3 separate regions of the Homo sapiens genome follow, and all the other regions are linked to region 2. The links are contacts of gene promoters, found by promoter capture Hi-C in human tissues and cell types (Jung and others, 2019). All regions are on one chromosome and are shown on one strand. Each heading gives the region's core, a stretch centred on a gene start or on the middle of the fragment in contact. The rest is flanking DNA. Distances are from core to core; before and after follow the strand shown. Region 1 has its middle 44 kb from the start of GLYAT. Region 2 holds the start of GLYAT (glycine-N-acyltransferase). Region 3 has its middle 46 kb from the start of GLYAT.

What was found. Contacts are between HindIII fragments. The study calls those that stand out against the background at their distance.
Region 1: a contact is called between a fragment that was not itself captured here and the fragment with the promoter of GLYAT in region 2, in 1 of the 25 tissues and cell types used here (neural progenitor cells).
Region 3: a fragment that was not itself captured here is called in contact with the fragment with the promoter of GLYAT in region 2 in 2 of the 25 tissues and cell types used here (adrenal gland and neural progenitor cells).

The regions. Positions count from the first base shown.
Region 1 is chr11:58,685,345-58,690,002 of GRCh38, forward strand. No RefSeq gene overlaps it. Among named protein-coding and RNA genes, the nearest start is that of GLYAT, 44 kb to the right of the region's middle. The HindIII fragment of the contact is 6,138 bases long and covers 1-4,658 here.
Region 2 is chr11:58,728,628-58,733,426 of GRCh38, forward strand. GLYAT (glycine-N-acyltransferase) reads right to left here and starts at 3,316. Exons shown (of 6, transcript NM_201648.3): 1 at 3,208-3,316. The HindIII fragment of the contact is 13,891 bases long and covers 690-4,799 here.
Region 3 is chr11:58,775,556-58,779,732 of GRCh38, forward strand. No RefSeq gene overlaps it. Among named protein-coding and RNA genes, the nearest start is that of GLYAT, 46 kb to the left of the region's middle. The HindIII fragment of the contact is 7,492 bases long and covers 1-4,177 here.

The DNA.
Region 1 (4,658 bases), core at 1,023-3,522, 44 kb before region 2:
TGATCACTACACCAACACGTACCAAATCTATTCCAAGAATGCAGAGAATTTACCAGAGGTCCTTGGCCAGCCAGGCATCATAACTGGAAGCAACATTTGTAGACTCAAGTTGCAGGAACATTGGGTGCCATTTGTGGGAAAGAGATAGGCCTTGTGTGGGCACAACCTTTGGGAACCAAGGTGGGGGCATAAAATTTGGTACCAGGCTGGCTTGTGTGTGGTATTTATTCTAGTCAACCAATGATAGGGGCAAAGAGGTTTATACAAATTTATAAATTTGTGGGTATCAGTGGGGGAGTCTTTGGACAAGATGAAGGCCAAAGGTTTTAGGTATTGCCTTCCTCCGAGCAGGGAGAGGTAATACTGCCTACTTAGTTCAAGGGTCAGTGTCAGAGAGCAGGCTCTATAATTCTTTCTTTCTTTTAAAATCTCATTTAATAGAAAATTAATGATTTCTCTTAAGATTGATGATTAACATAAGTTTGCATATGTTTGTTGACCACTCATATTCCTCCTATGCATTGCCTATCATACCTTTGCCAATTATTGTTTTAGCTTATCTTTTGTGCATTAATTATGAATAGTTTTTTTATTGCAATATAATACACCCATAAAATTTACCCTTGTAAAGTGTACAGTTAAGTTGTTTTAAGCATACTCATAAAGTGACCACTGAAGTCTCTGATCAATTAGCTTAGCGATCCTTAAATGTCTGGAACCATTCACCTCCTAGCCTTTGCTGAGGGGCTTTGTGTTTGTATTAGGTCATGCTTTCAGTTTTTAGGCAGGTAGTTTACAACTCTGCCTTAACCTTCATTTCCTGTGTGTGTGCAGCCTCAAGGTCAATTGGATCGGAGATCTTGTTAGAGTCTTCTCGTACTTCCCTGGGCATGTCCACAGCTATATGCAAACATGTAGCCTTCTAGATTCTTAGAAATTTGTCAGAGCTTTCAAAGCTGTCTATGGACATCTCATCCCCCAGCTGATCCTTTTAAATGTTTTGTTTAGGTTTTTGTTTGCCCTAAATATCGTTGCCATGTCAGGCAGCTATGATGTATTAATCGATGCTGACTGTTTTCAGCAGATGACTGGGGGAAATGGCTTTGCACAGTAAGCAAGCCCTGACTAAGATCATCTGAAAAAAGCTGTGAGCGTTGGGGTTCACAGGGAACTGCCAGACATGTCAAATAGCAACAAACCTCTGAGAATATTGCTTTCAGGGAGCTCCAAACCCATACTGCCTGTCCAATAGTTGCTAGGCTCCTGGCTTTCACCATGATTGTAGGACTGTTGGTTTATACCACGGAGCTGCGGAGAGGCCACTACGGATAGGGCAAGTCACAATACCACAAAGCTCACTATTCTCAGAAAGTTTCAGCTGCTTTTTCAACAGGTCATGGACAAAAAAACAAACAGATTCAGCTGTTTCTCTGGAATAAATCTTCAGATTGTTGCAAATTTTTGGTTAATTTTTGGAGTTTTGGAAAATGTTTATTTTGGCTTTTTTCAGTGTTCTTGTCACTTTGATGAAGGAGAGGATTTTTAGAGGTCCTTATTCCATCATTCCCACTGATGTCACCCTCTAATGTCATTTATGCCATCCCTGAAAAACCACAGAGGTCTCTGGAGAAATTTTTTATATTTTTTATTATGTATTTATTTTTTTTAAAATAGAGACAGAGTCTCACTATGTTGTCCAGGCAGGTAAGAACTGCTGGTGTCAAGTGATTCTCCCAACTCACCCTCCCAAAGTGTTGGAATTACAGGCATGAGCCACCATGCCCAGCCTTCTGGAGAAATTTTTTCATGACCTTTTTGCACCTACTTTTATTTGTTTACTTTTAATTTTATTTTAGAAACAGAGTCTTGCTCTGTTACCCAGGCTGGAGTGCAGTAGCATGATCATGGCTAATTGCCACCTCAAAATCCTGGGCTCAAGTGATCCTCCCACCTCAGCCTCCCAAGTAACTGGAACTACAAGCCCATGCCATCTTGCCTGGCTAAATTAAAAACATTTTTCTTTCATAGGGACCAGGGTCTCACTATGTTGCCCAGGCTAATCTTGAACTGGCCTCAAGTGATCCTCTCACCTTGACCTCCCAAAGTGCTGGGATTACAGGCGTGAGCCAGTGTGCCCAGCCTTCATCCCATTTTTAATCCCTCTTTTCTAGATTCTTTTCTTCCTGGAAAGCTCCTTTTTCTCTTTACCAGATTATAATACAAAACAGGTAAAAATAAATGGGCTTATTTACCTGTAGCATTAAGAAAGAAAATGTCCTCATTAGAGTTCTTCTCAGCTGCTTAATCCGAGTTCAAGGTCCCCATCAGTGCTTTACTTCTCAGCACTGGCTTTTAGTCATCCAGGAGCAAGGCAATCTTTCCCTTGAAGTCAGCTACCTGCCTGTGCCACCAACTGTGCAGAAAACAATTTGAAACAAGGTAGACTAGGAAGTTCCCAGAAAGGTATGGGTAAAGTGCTGGAGAGTTTCAGAGGAGAGATAAATCATTTTCCAATCTAGTGTATTAAGGAAGGCTCTATGATAGGTGGAACACTGGAAGGTGTCTTTGAGGAATTTGTGCTTTTGAATATAGAGCAGTAGAAAGAGAAGGGTGGGAATGGGAGTGGGTGGGAGGGTGAGGAATTGAGGAAGAAACTTACTCAATTTGACATAGGGTTGGTAATGTCATTTTCAGATTTGCTGTGATCCCCTAGAAACCTTGTAGTTGTAGAATGGGATCAAAGTTTTCTTTTTGGCATTTATTTTAAAGAATAAGATTAAAAGCACTTATAGATTATGTAACACTTTGACAGAAAGCATCTCATTTGCTTTTGAATACAGCTCTGTGAATAAGCAGGACAGTAGTTCAGGTGGTCAAGTGATCACCTGAATGAGTCGAAGTTATTTCAGGGTAAAACTGGACCTCTAAACCTGTCCGTACCTCTGAATCCCATCTATTTTTCATGCCACTGCCTAGAACATCTCACCTACCTTTCTAAGAGGGACCTCCTGCAACTCCCTCAAGTGAATTGAGACTCTATTTTATATTGATTTGTAGCTACTTTCACTTTTCCCTTTAAAGCACCACAATTTTTTTTTTTTGAGATGGAGTCTTGCTCTGTTGCCCAAGCTGGAGTACAGTGGGATAGTCTCAGCTCACTGCAACTTCTGCCTCCCAGGTTCAAGCGATTCTCCTGCCTCAGCCTCTTGAGTAGCTGGGATTACAGGTGCACACCACTATGCCTGGCTAATTTTTGTATTTTTAGTAGAAAAGGGGTTTCACCATGTTGACCAGGCTGGTCTCAAACTCATGCCTTCAAGTGATCCACCTGCCTCAGCCTCCCAAAGTGCTGGAATTACAGCGTGAGCCACTGTGCCCAGCCCACAATTTCTAAGTATGCATTTATTTATGTGGTTGCACATGTGATATCTGTCTCTCTTATTAGACTATTTATTTATTAGATCTGTAAGGTCAGGGATTGCCTGGTTTGTACACCCTTGTATATCAAGGAGCATAGTGCCTAACACTGTACTCAGCAAATGTTTGTGGAATGTGTGCATTCTACCTACAGACTTCCCCTGAGTTCTCTCTGGACATACACATTCTCTTTTGTTTCCCTTATAGTGACTCAGTCCAGCTTAAATGAAGTGATTAAGAATGTGGCAGCTGCCAAGTCTCTCACTGTCTCATGATTGGAACGACTCACCTTTATGTCTGGAAACTGAAGAAACTTCTTCCTTCTCTGCTTAATGAAAAGAAAATGGCATCACATGTTGCTAAACCCGGTGACATGTGAGTGACATAAAAGCTACCTCAAACGGGCATGTGCACATACACACACACACATTCTGCATTTTAAACATCAGATGTGTCCCAGTGGAGTTGGCAGTCAAGAGAGTCACTGTAAAGATAATTCCATTTGCCTGCTGGTTCAATTAATCATATGAGAAGATCCTCATCCAACTGGTTAATCATAGTGAACGTAATTATTTACTGATGACACACTTTGTTCCTGTACTGTGCATACATTATCTCTTTTCATCCTGTCAAAGAAAAAAATATTCAATGATATTTGCAAAGCTTGGTAAGGAAGACTTCATTCAGGACTATTGCAATGGTATAGGGACCACTGCAATGGGACTTTGCCATAGGGGAGAGAGACTGGGGTTAACTCTGAATACTGCGTGGGCAAGTAGAAATTTTTACAGCCAAGAGCAGGGTGGAAGTCAGTGGATGGAAAATCACTCAGAAGAAATATCAGGAGTAAGGGGAATTTTGGCTAAACTGACCTAACAGAATTCTTGCTGAAGACAGGCCGAGCTGATGAGACATCACCTGGGGGATGGTGGAGGATGAAATATTGAGGGTGGTAGATTATTGCTAAACTGACTTAGCAAGGTTGTTTGATAAAACTGGATTTTATGAGGAAGCACACAGATGGGCCTAGCAGAAGGTTCAGGAGCATGACTAAATTTTGATTAAGCAGATAATCTTTGTCTATCCTCACAAACTTTCTGAGGATTACTCAGGTGAGCAGAATGGGCCTCAGAGAGCAAGAGGAACTTGCATGAGGTTACAAAGCAAGCACAAAGTAGGGCTAGAGTTGAGGTCATGTTCATCTGCTTCTAGGGCTCTCGAATTTAAGCTCCATTTTATTT
Region 2 (4,799 bases), core at 2,066-4,565:
AAAAGGTGAGTCCTAGAATTGCACCAGCTTACTTACTGATGGAAGTTTTCAGGTTGAAGTTCAGGGATATGGAATCTAACCAGAGCACAAGGACTGTCACTGATTGAGCTTACGGAGGTTTTGGAGCTTAAGGAGGCCAAGGTGGAGCTTCGTTGAGAGAGTAAACAGAGAGATGAGAGAGAGAGAGAGAGAAAGAAAAAGAAAAAGAAAAAAAGGAAAGAAAGAAGAAAGAAAGAAAGAAAGAAAGAAAGAAAGAAAGAAAGAAGGAAGGAAGGAAGGAAGGAAGGAAGGAAGGAAGGAAGGAAGGAAGGAAGGAAGGAGAGAATAAAAGAAAAGAAAGGAAGGAAGGAAGAAAGGAAGGAAGGAAGTTCCTAGAGTCTGGCTAATTACTGATCTGAGCATATATAAAAAGAAACTACCTTAATACCTTAGCCCATGGATTCTACCTCTACCATCTGAGTCTAGTCTACCCTTCTAGCCTCTTCTGTTGCTACCATCCACCATGTAAGACCACAGTGGATTTCTTCAACACAGTGTCTGCTTAGCACCTCTGGTCTTTCTACATTTATTCTCAGTTTGAAATTTCCTACTTCAGTTCTGCCTTCTAAATTAGGCTTCCACTTACCCCTTCAAGTTTACCCGAATAGCCTGTTATCCCTAGTGCTCTTTTCACTGTCTCTTACGTCCGTCTGAATAAGTCACTCCCTTTTCTGTGCTCTCATAAGTGTTTATGCATATTTTAATTATATAACTTGTTATGTTGGGTTAAAGTTTTCTTCTTTCAATTGATAAATATCGTATATATTTATGCTGTTCAACATGATGTTTTAAAGTTGAATTTCGTTTTCTTTTCTAGATGTTGAATTCTTCTGAGGCAGGATGCTCATATTACTTATTCTTTTATCAGTAATTCTTATCACAGTATTTGGCACAGAGTAGGCCCTCAATACATAAGTAACGAATGATTGAATACATGAAATGCTTGTATTAATTGTCTGTCTAATCACTCCACTTTCCAAAAGTATAGAGACATTAATATATTCATTCAATAAACACATATGTATTAAATGCATAATATATTCTGGACATGAGAAAAGTTTCCAGCTATTTTGTACTACATTATATCTTGAAGAAAACTCCAGACCATATCTCATATCTAAGGGTCTTAGGATGATAAAAGTATAACATTCCTAAAGGCTAATCTTGTCTTTTCTCTAGATGCAACTCAGAAGGAAGTAACAAAGTAGAGTTAAAGTAGAGCTTAATGTCAAGTCTGTGGGGTGTGATATTACTATATTTTCTGAAGAGTAGAGTTTGGAACCACCCTCTAAGGATGTACTTACAAACTAACAAAGAGGTATGGCTCTCATGCTTGGTTGGGGTAAACTGAAAGCTACTGACACTGAGGTTCTTCCAAGAAATCTGACACAATAATGGTAGCTGGCAGCACTGGGCAATGAGTAGCATTCCCGGGCATAAACTTCAGAATCTTTGATCCTGGTCCAGTTATTACAGAAATGGAAATTAATCTAAAGAAAACAATTTAAAAGAAGAAAACAACTCTAGGCTGAGCATGGTGGCTTGCACCTGTAATTCCAGCACTTTCAGAGGCCAAGGAGGGAGGATTAATTGAGGGCAAAAGCTTGAGACCAGCCTGGTCAACACAGCAAGACCCCAATCTCTACAAAAATAAAAATTAGTTGGGTATGGTGACACACACCTGTAGCCCTAGCTACTCAAGAGGCTAAGGTGGGACGATTCTAATAGTTTTCATCATGCCATGCAAGTAATTTGCTGTTTTGTGTAAGCAGAAAAAAAGAATACATTCTGCAAATCAGACCTCATTCAGATCTTTCCCACTACCTTGCTTTTACTGCAGCTACTTGAATGGGAAGGAGAGGAAGATTATGCCTACATAATCTGACCACAGTCTCACAGAGTGAGTTTTGTTACAACTCTTCCAGAAATTTCTGAGTTGCAGCTTGTAATGCAGACCTTGTACTAAGTTGGCAAAAAATTCTGATGTCAGTTCCAGTGGAATCTAACCCTGGACTCACTTGAGCCCACAGCAAGTTAAAGGTTACAATGAGTTATGTTCATACCACTGCACTCCAGTCTGGGTAACAGAGTGTCTCTAAATACAAAACAAAACAAAAACTCTAAACAGAATTTTATAAAGTCACATGAACATAAGCAAGTCTGAACAAAATCTCTATGTGCCTCAATAGGGGAAGATAACATAAAATATGTTCCAACAGAGTGATGCAACCCTAAGGCATTAACATAATGCCTACAGACATAATATATAATATGTATAGACACATGGGAGAGTGTTCAAATAAAATGAGAAAATATAGGACACAAAACAGTTCACATACAACACATAAAGTTCAAATTTAAGAGAGAACAAAGGCAAACAGGAATAAATAAGTAAATGGTGGTAGTACTGTTGTAGATTAAATCTTTAGAGTAAAATTTGTTTTCTGTATAATTTAAATAAACAATAAATCTTGTCTGTATTCTTGTCTTATTGATCTACTTATTTCCTCTCTCACTTTCAGTGCAACAAACTTCTTAGTAGTAGTGTAAGGAAAAAACTGCCTCCCTTATAATGTGACCAGGATTAAAAATAGTAATTTTTCTGGTGTCTCCACACACTCAGTATTCTATTCATCCACCTGCTTCCAAGAAGCTCTCAGATCTTTCTTTATTCATTTATTAGTCGAGAGCACAAACTTCTAAGGATTTTCATGGTAGCTAGCAAACTGCCATTGACAAAATAGTTGTCAGATATGTGTTTCTTAAGTGGAAGTTACTCCTTTTCCTTGAGCATAGTTGTCTGCATATTCTGAGCATAACACAATACGGGCACTTTAATTTGACTCACTTAAGTGGAAGAGGTGTCACAAAGCAATAATTACATTAAAAAAATAAATTTTATTGTGGATATTTAAAGTATACAATATGATGTTATGAGAGCATACAGATAGTGAAAACATTACCATTATGAAGCAAATTAATATATCTATTACTTCACATAGTTACTTATTTTTTGTCGTTGTTTTTATGTAAAGAGCAGCTAAACTCCACTCATGTAGCATGGATCCCATATACAATGCAATTCTATTAACTATAGTTCTCATGTTGTACATTAGATCTCTAGACTTGTTCATCCTATGTATCTGATACTTTGTAATGAGTCCTCACCTGAAAAGCTAGTCTCTGCAGATGTTTCCGGGAAGAAACGATGAGCAACACCCTTCTGGGAGATGAAATTTCTCCCTGATGCAGCCAGTTCAGCAGAGTCTCGCAGAGTAAATTTTGATACACCACCTCCAGAAATTTCTGAGCTTTGGCTTGTAATGTGGACCTTGTACTAGGCTGGCAAAAGAATCTGGTGTCAGTTCTAGTGGAATTCAGCCCTGCCTCTCACGGGCCCATGTTGAAGTAATTGGCTCTGCATGGTTGAGAGGCTGGCTGTATGCCCCTGAGCTTCTCTTTTTAAAACATCACAATGCTTTTTGTCCTCACAGGTCATGGAAATACCATGAAAACCAAAGCTGTGTGAAACCAACAGGCCAGATACTGGAAGGAGGGTCAGATTATGTAGGCACTACCCTCACCTCTTTCCCATTCAAGTATCTGTAATAGAAGCAAGGCAGTGGGAAAGATATGAATGATATCTGATTTGCAGAATGCAATAAAATAGCAAATTACTTGCATGGAGTGATGAAAGCTGTTAGAATCTTCCTTTTTAAAGACAAGTTGTGCCCCCTCCCATGCCCATTTTGAAGCTGCAGTGAAACATTCTGACAATGATTCAATGTGAGCACTTCTTAGTCTCACTTTTATAGAGAAGGACCATTGAGATCTCAGCATGGTTGAACTGGTTAGATGTTAAGCCCAGAGCTTTTTCACTCCGAAGTCCTAATTACTATACTTTCCACTTGCTCAGAAAAGAAAGGAGGGTTCACAGCAAAGATAATTTGAGCCTCAATTTCACTGTGTAAAACAGCCAAGATGGGGAGTTTGACACTCTCCAGGTCCTTGTTCTCACCACCTCATTCCCAGGTTAGTAAATATCTTTATTGTAGAGGAAGCAACAGACACTCTAATCAGAGGAGCAGGGACACAAGAGGCTAGGTTGAGAAAGAGGGACAAAAAGTGTGTGTGTGTTCCTTCACTTAATGGATCAGCACAGAGCAAGTTTTCACATATTTTTCTCTGTACTGTCTAGGAGCCCTGCCACTCCTAGAACATTAATTCTCCATCTTTTCCCCTGAGATTGAAGTCATTATAACCTTCCATTACTCTTTCTTCAAAGCGACTGAGATTGTTCTATCATTTATTAACCCGGTGGATCTCTTGACTCCAATAGGGTTCATATCTCACAAAGGATATATCTAACTGCAACAAAAGAGTGGGGTACTCCTTTATCCCAAGCCCAGAAACCAGACCCCTCCTATTCTGTCACTTTAGCTCCTACACTCACACAGCCAGGCAATAGACCAGGATTCAGTGGTGTCTCTCACCCTCAAATCTTTGACTAGAGTCTCTTAACCTCCCTGGGCTGTTGCCCTAGCTGTAAAAAGTGTGTTGTACTAGGTAACCAAGGATTTTTCTTGCTTTTGTTTGACTCTGTGGTTCTTATTCTTACTATGTTATATGTGATAACAGACATAAACCTCACACATTTTGGGATCAGATACAAGGGAAAAGGTTCGGGAGCTCCAGCATCAGTCTTAGTATTCTAAGTGGTTTTTCTCTGGGGTCTGAATTGAAGTGCTAGCAATGATGAC
Region 3 (4,177 bases), core at 768-3,267, 46 kb after region 2:
ATGAGTGTACAGGGACTCATACAGGAACTTGTGTCTATAACCAGACTTGTTACTCAGTCTGTGATCCTGGAAACAGGCAACCCTAAGTATGTTATGACCCAGAGTTCTTGCCCTGTGATTTCTCATTTGAAGTCCAAATTGGCAAATCCCTAATGCCATCATATACAAACCCCACAGAAACCGGGGTCAATAAACTTGTAAACAAAACAGAAGTATTCCCTTACTTGCATAAAGGGCCTGTCTCCATATATTTTGATGCCTGCCAAGCTGATGTATGTGGAGGTACTAATATAGAAGATCAATGGCCCTGGAAGCCAGAGAACTGATGCCACAGGACAGTTTTACCTTGCCTGAATTTGAGGAACACCTGCAGGATTATATTGGATCTGTGGAACAAAAGCTTATCAATTGCTGTCTGATAAATGGATAGGGGCGAGTGTATTAGGAACAATAAGGCTATCCTTTTTCCTACTCCCACTGCAGCAAGGGAAAAATCTAAGGTATCTGGTCTATGATGAAGGCAGAAAAAGAGTCTGAAGAAATGTGTTTACAAAAATAAGTACTTGGAAAAAATAAATACTACCATTAAAAGGACATTGAAATAGGGAGCTGGAAAGAGAATGAATGGCCCCTTGAAAGAATTAACAAATACTATGTACCAGCCACCTGGGCACAAAATGGGTCATGGAGATACCATACTCCTATTTATATGTTAAGTTGCATCACAAGGTTGCAAGCAGTTCTGGAAATTATAGTCATTGAAACAGCCTGAGCCTTAGACTTGCTAGCCATACAGGCGACCCAGATGAGAGATGCCATTTATCAGAACAGGTTAGCCCTGGATTATCTTTTAGCTTCAGAAGGAGGAGTTTGTGGAAAACTTAATTTAATGAATTGCTTTTTACAAATTGATGACAATGGAAAAGCTGTCATGAAAATCACTGCCAGGATGCTAAAGTTAGCTCATGTTCTGGCCCAGATGTGGTCTGGTTGGAACCCGAGTTCACCCTTTGGAGGATGGTTTTCATGGTTTGGAGGCTTTAAAACTTTAATAATAGGCTTTGTGGCCATAATAGGTGTATGCCTCCTGCTTTCTTGTCTCCTGCCACTTCTCATCAGAAGCATCCAATCCACCATAGAAGCAATAGTAGCCAGACATACCACCACATGAATAGTGGCTCTGCAAAAGTACCAACCAGTATCCCAAGATGAGTATGTACCCACTCAAGAAAAAATAGCTAACTGTGGTTCTCTTTACTAATCTACATTTGTGTCATGCACCAAAAGGGGGGAATGAAGAAGGAATTAATGAAATCAACTATAACCTAATAGTAGTAGTAATAGAAGTTTTAAAATCCTCTTAAAGTTGCTGCAAAGTGTGACCTCCCCTTACACTCAAGTTACAAGGGAATATTAACAGCCTGTCTTCTCTCTGTGGACAGTGGACCTTATCTATGCTCCCCAACTCCACATTCTTCAAAGTTTATTACAGGCCCAGCGAGTTCCTGCACGACTGCAGGGTCACAAGACCGATAAGTTTAGGTTGCAAGTCATGTCTTTCTCAAAATGTAAGAAATGTTGCAATGCCGCCGTTGTTTCTTGCTTCTGTAACTTGCTTCCTGCTTCACGTAGTTCCTGCCTTAAGATATTTAAAAGTAGTAGAAGCTCTTTCTTCGGGGCTCAGGCTTTCTGGACACATGTCCGTCTGGGCTGGTGATCACCTTAATGGACTCTCCTGAACATTTATCGATCTCTTTGGTCTTTGATTGTCTCACAACAAAGATTGGTTCTTTGATTTAACTTCGTCAGACAAAAATAAAAAAGAATGAACAAAACCTTGAGATATATGGGATTATATAAAGAGACCAAACCTATGACTCATTGGCATCCCTAAAAAAGAGAGTAAGCAAGTTGCAAAACATTGTCCATCAAAATCTCCTCAACCTAGTTAAACGGGTTGACAAAGAAATTTAGGAAATTCACAGAACCCCTGCAAGATACTATACAAGATGATCATCCTTGAGACATATAGTCATCGGATTCTCCAAGGTCAATGCAAAAGAAAAAATATTAAAGGCAGCTAAAGAGAAGGGGCATGTCACCTACCCACAAGGGGAACATCATCATGCCAGCAGAAAACTTTTCAGCAGAAACTCTAAAAGGCAGAAGAGATTGGGGGCCTATATTCAGCATTCTTGAAGAAAAGAAATTCCAATCAAGAAGTTCCTATACAGCTATACTAAAATTCATGAGCAAAAGAGAAATAAAATGCTTTTCAGACAAGCAAATGTTAAGGGAATTTATTACCAGACCTGACTTAAAAGGAGTCCTTAAGGGAGCACTACACATGGAATCAAAAGACCATTACTGGCCACTGCAAAAACGCAGTGAAGTACACAGCCCATTGACACTATAAAGGAACTACACAATCAAGCCTACATAACAACTAGTTAACAACACAATAACAGAATCACATCCACACATATCAGTATTAACTTTGAATATAAACAAGTTAAATGATTCCACTTAAAGGGTGCAGAGTGGCAAATTAGATAAAGAAGTAAGACCCAACTATATGCTCTCTTCAGGAGATCCATGTCACATATAATGACAATCATAGGCTCAAAGTAAAGGGATGGAAGAAGATCTATCAAGCAAACAGAAAACAAAAAAAGGGTTACTATTCTTATCTCAAAGTACATTTTAAACAAACCATGATCAAAAGGATAAAGAAGGACATTACATCATGATAAAGGGTTCAATTCAACAAGAAGACTTAAATAGTATACATATTACATATTATTTATTATTTAAATATATTTAATATTATATACTAAATATTATATATAGATGTATATCTATTCTCTATACATATATATATATATATATATATATCTAACACCGGAGCACCCAGATTTATGAAACAAGTTCTTAGAGACCTGTGAAGAAACTTAGATAACCACAAAATAATAGTGGGAGATTTCAACACCCCACTGACAGTATTAGACAAATAATTGAGGCAGAAAACTAACAAGAATATTCAGAATCTAAATTCAATGGTTGACCAAATAGACTTCACAGACATCTACAGAACATACCACTTACCACTCCAAACAAGAGAATATACATTCTCCTACTCTGCACATGGCACATACTCTAAAATCAACCACATTCTCAGCCATAAAGCAATTCTCAACAAATTCAAAAATAACCAAATCATACCAACCACAGTATCAGATCACAGCACAATAAAAATAGAAGTCAATACCAATGAGATATCTCAAAACCATATATTTAAATGCAAATTAAATAACCTGCTCCTGAATGACTTTTGGGTAAACAATAAAATTTAGGCATAAAGCAATTTTTTTGAAACTAATGAAAACAAAGATACAACATATCAGAATCTCTGAGATATAGACAAAGCAGTGGTAAGAGAAATGTTCATAGCACTAATTATCCACATCAAAAAGTCAGAAATGTCTCAAAATAACAGCTTGACATCACACCCAGAGGAACTAGAAAAACAAGGGCAAACCAAACCAGAAGCTAGCAGAAGAAAAGAAATGAACAAAATCCAAGCTGAACTGAACAAAATGGAGATGTGAACAAAACATACAAAAAGATCAGTAAAACCAAAAGTTGGTTCATTGAAAGAATAATAAGATTGATACACCACTATCTAGGGTAATAAAAAAAGAGATAAGATCCAAATAAATGCAAGCAGAAATGATGAAGGAGGACATTAGCACTGCTCCCATAGAAACACAAAAACCCTCATAGACTATTATGAACACTTCTATGCATACAGACTAGAAAACATAAAGAAAAAAAAAGATAAACTCCTGGAAACATACAATCTCCCAAGATTGTATTAGAAAGAAGTTGAAACCCTTAACCAACCATTAACAAGTTCCAAAACTGAATCAGTAATAAAAAATCTACTGCATTAGTCTGTTCTCATGCTGCTAATAAAGACATACCCAAAACTGTGTAATTTATAAAGAAATTTCAATGGACTCACAGTTTCACATGGCTGAGAGGCCTCACAATCATGGCAGAAAGTGAAGGAGGAGAAAAAAACACGTCTTACATGGTGGCAGACATGAGTGCATGTGCAGAAGAACTGTCCTGTATAAAACCATCCCATATCATGAGACTTATTCACTATCATGAG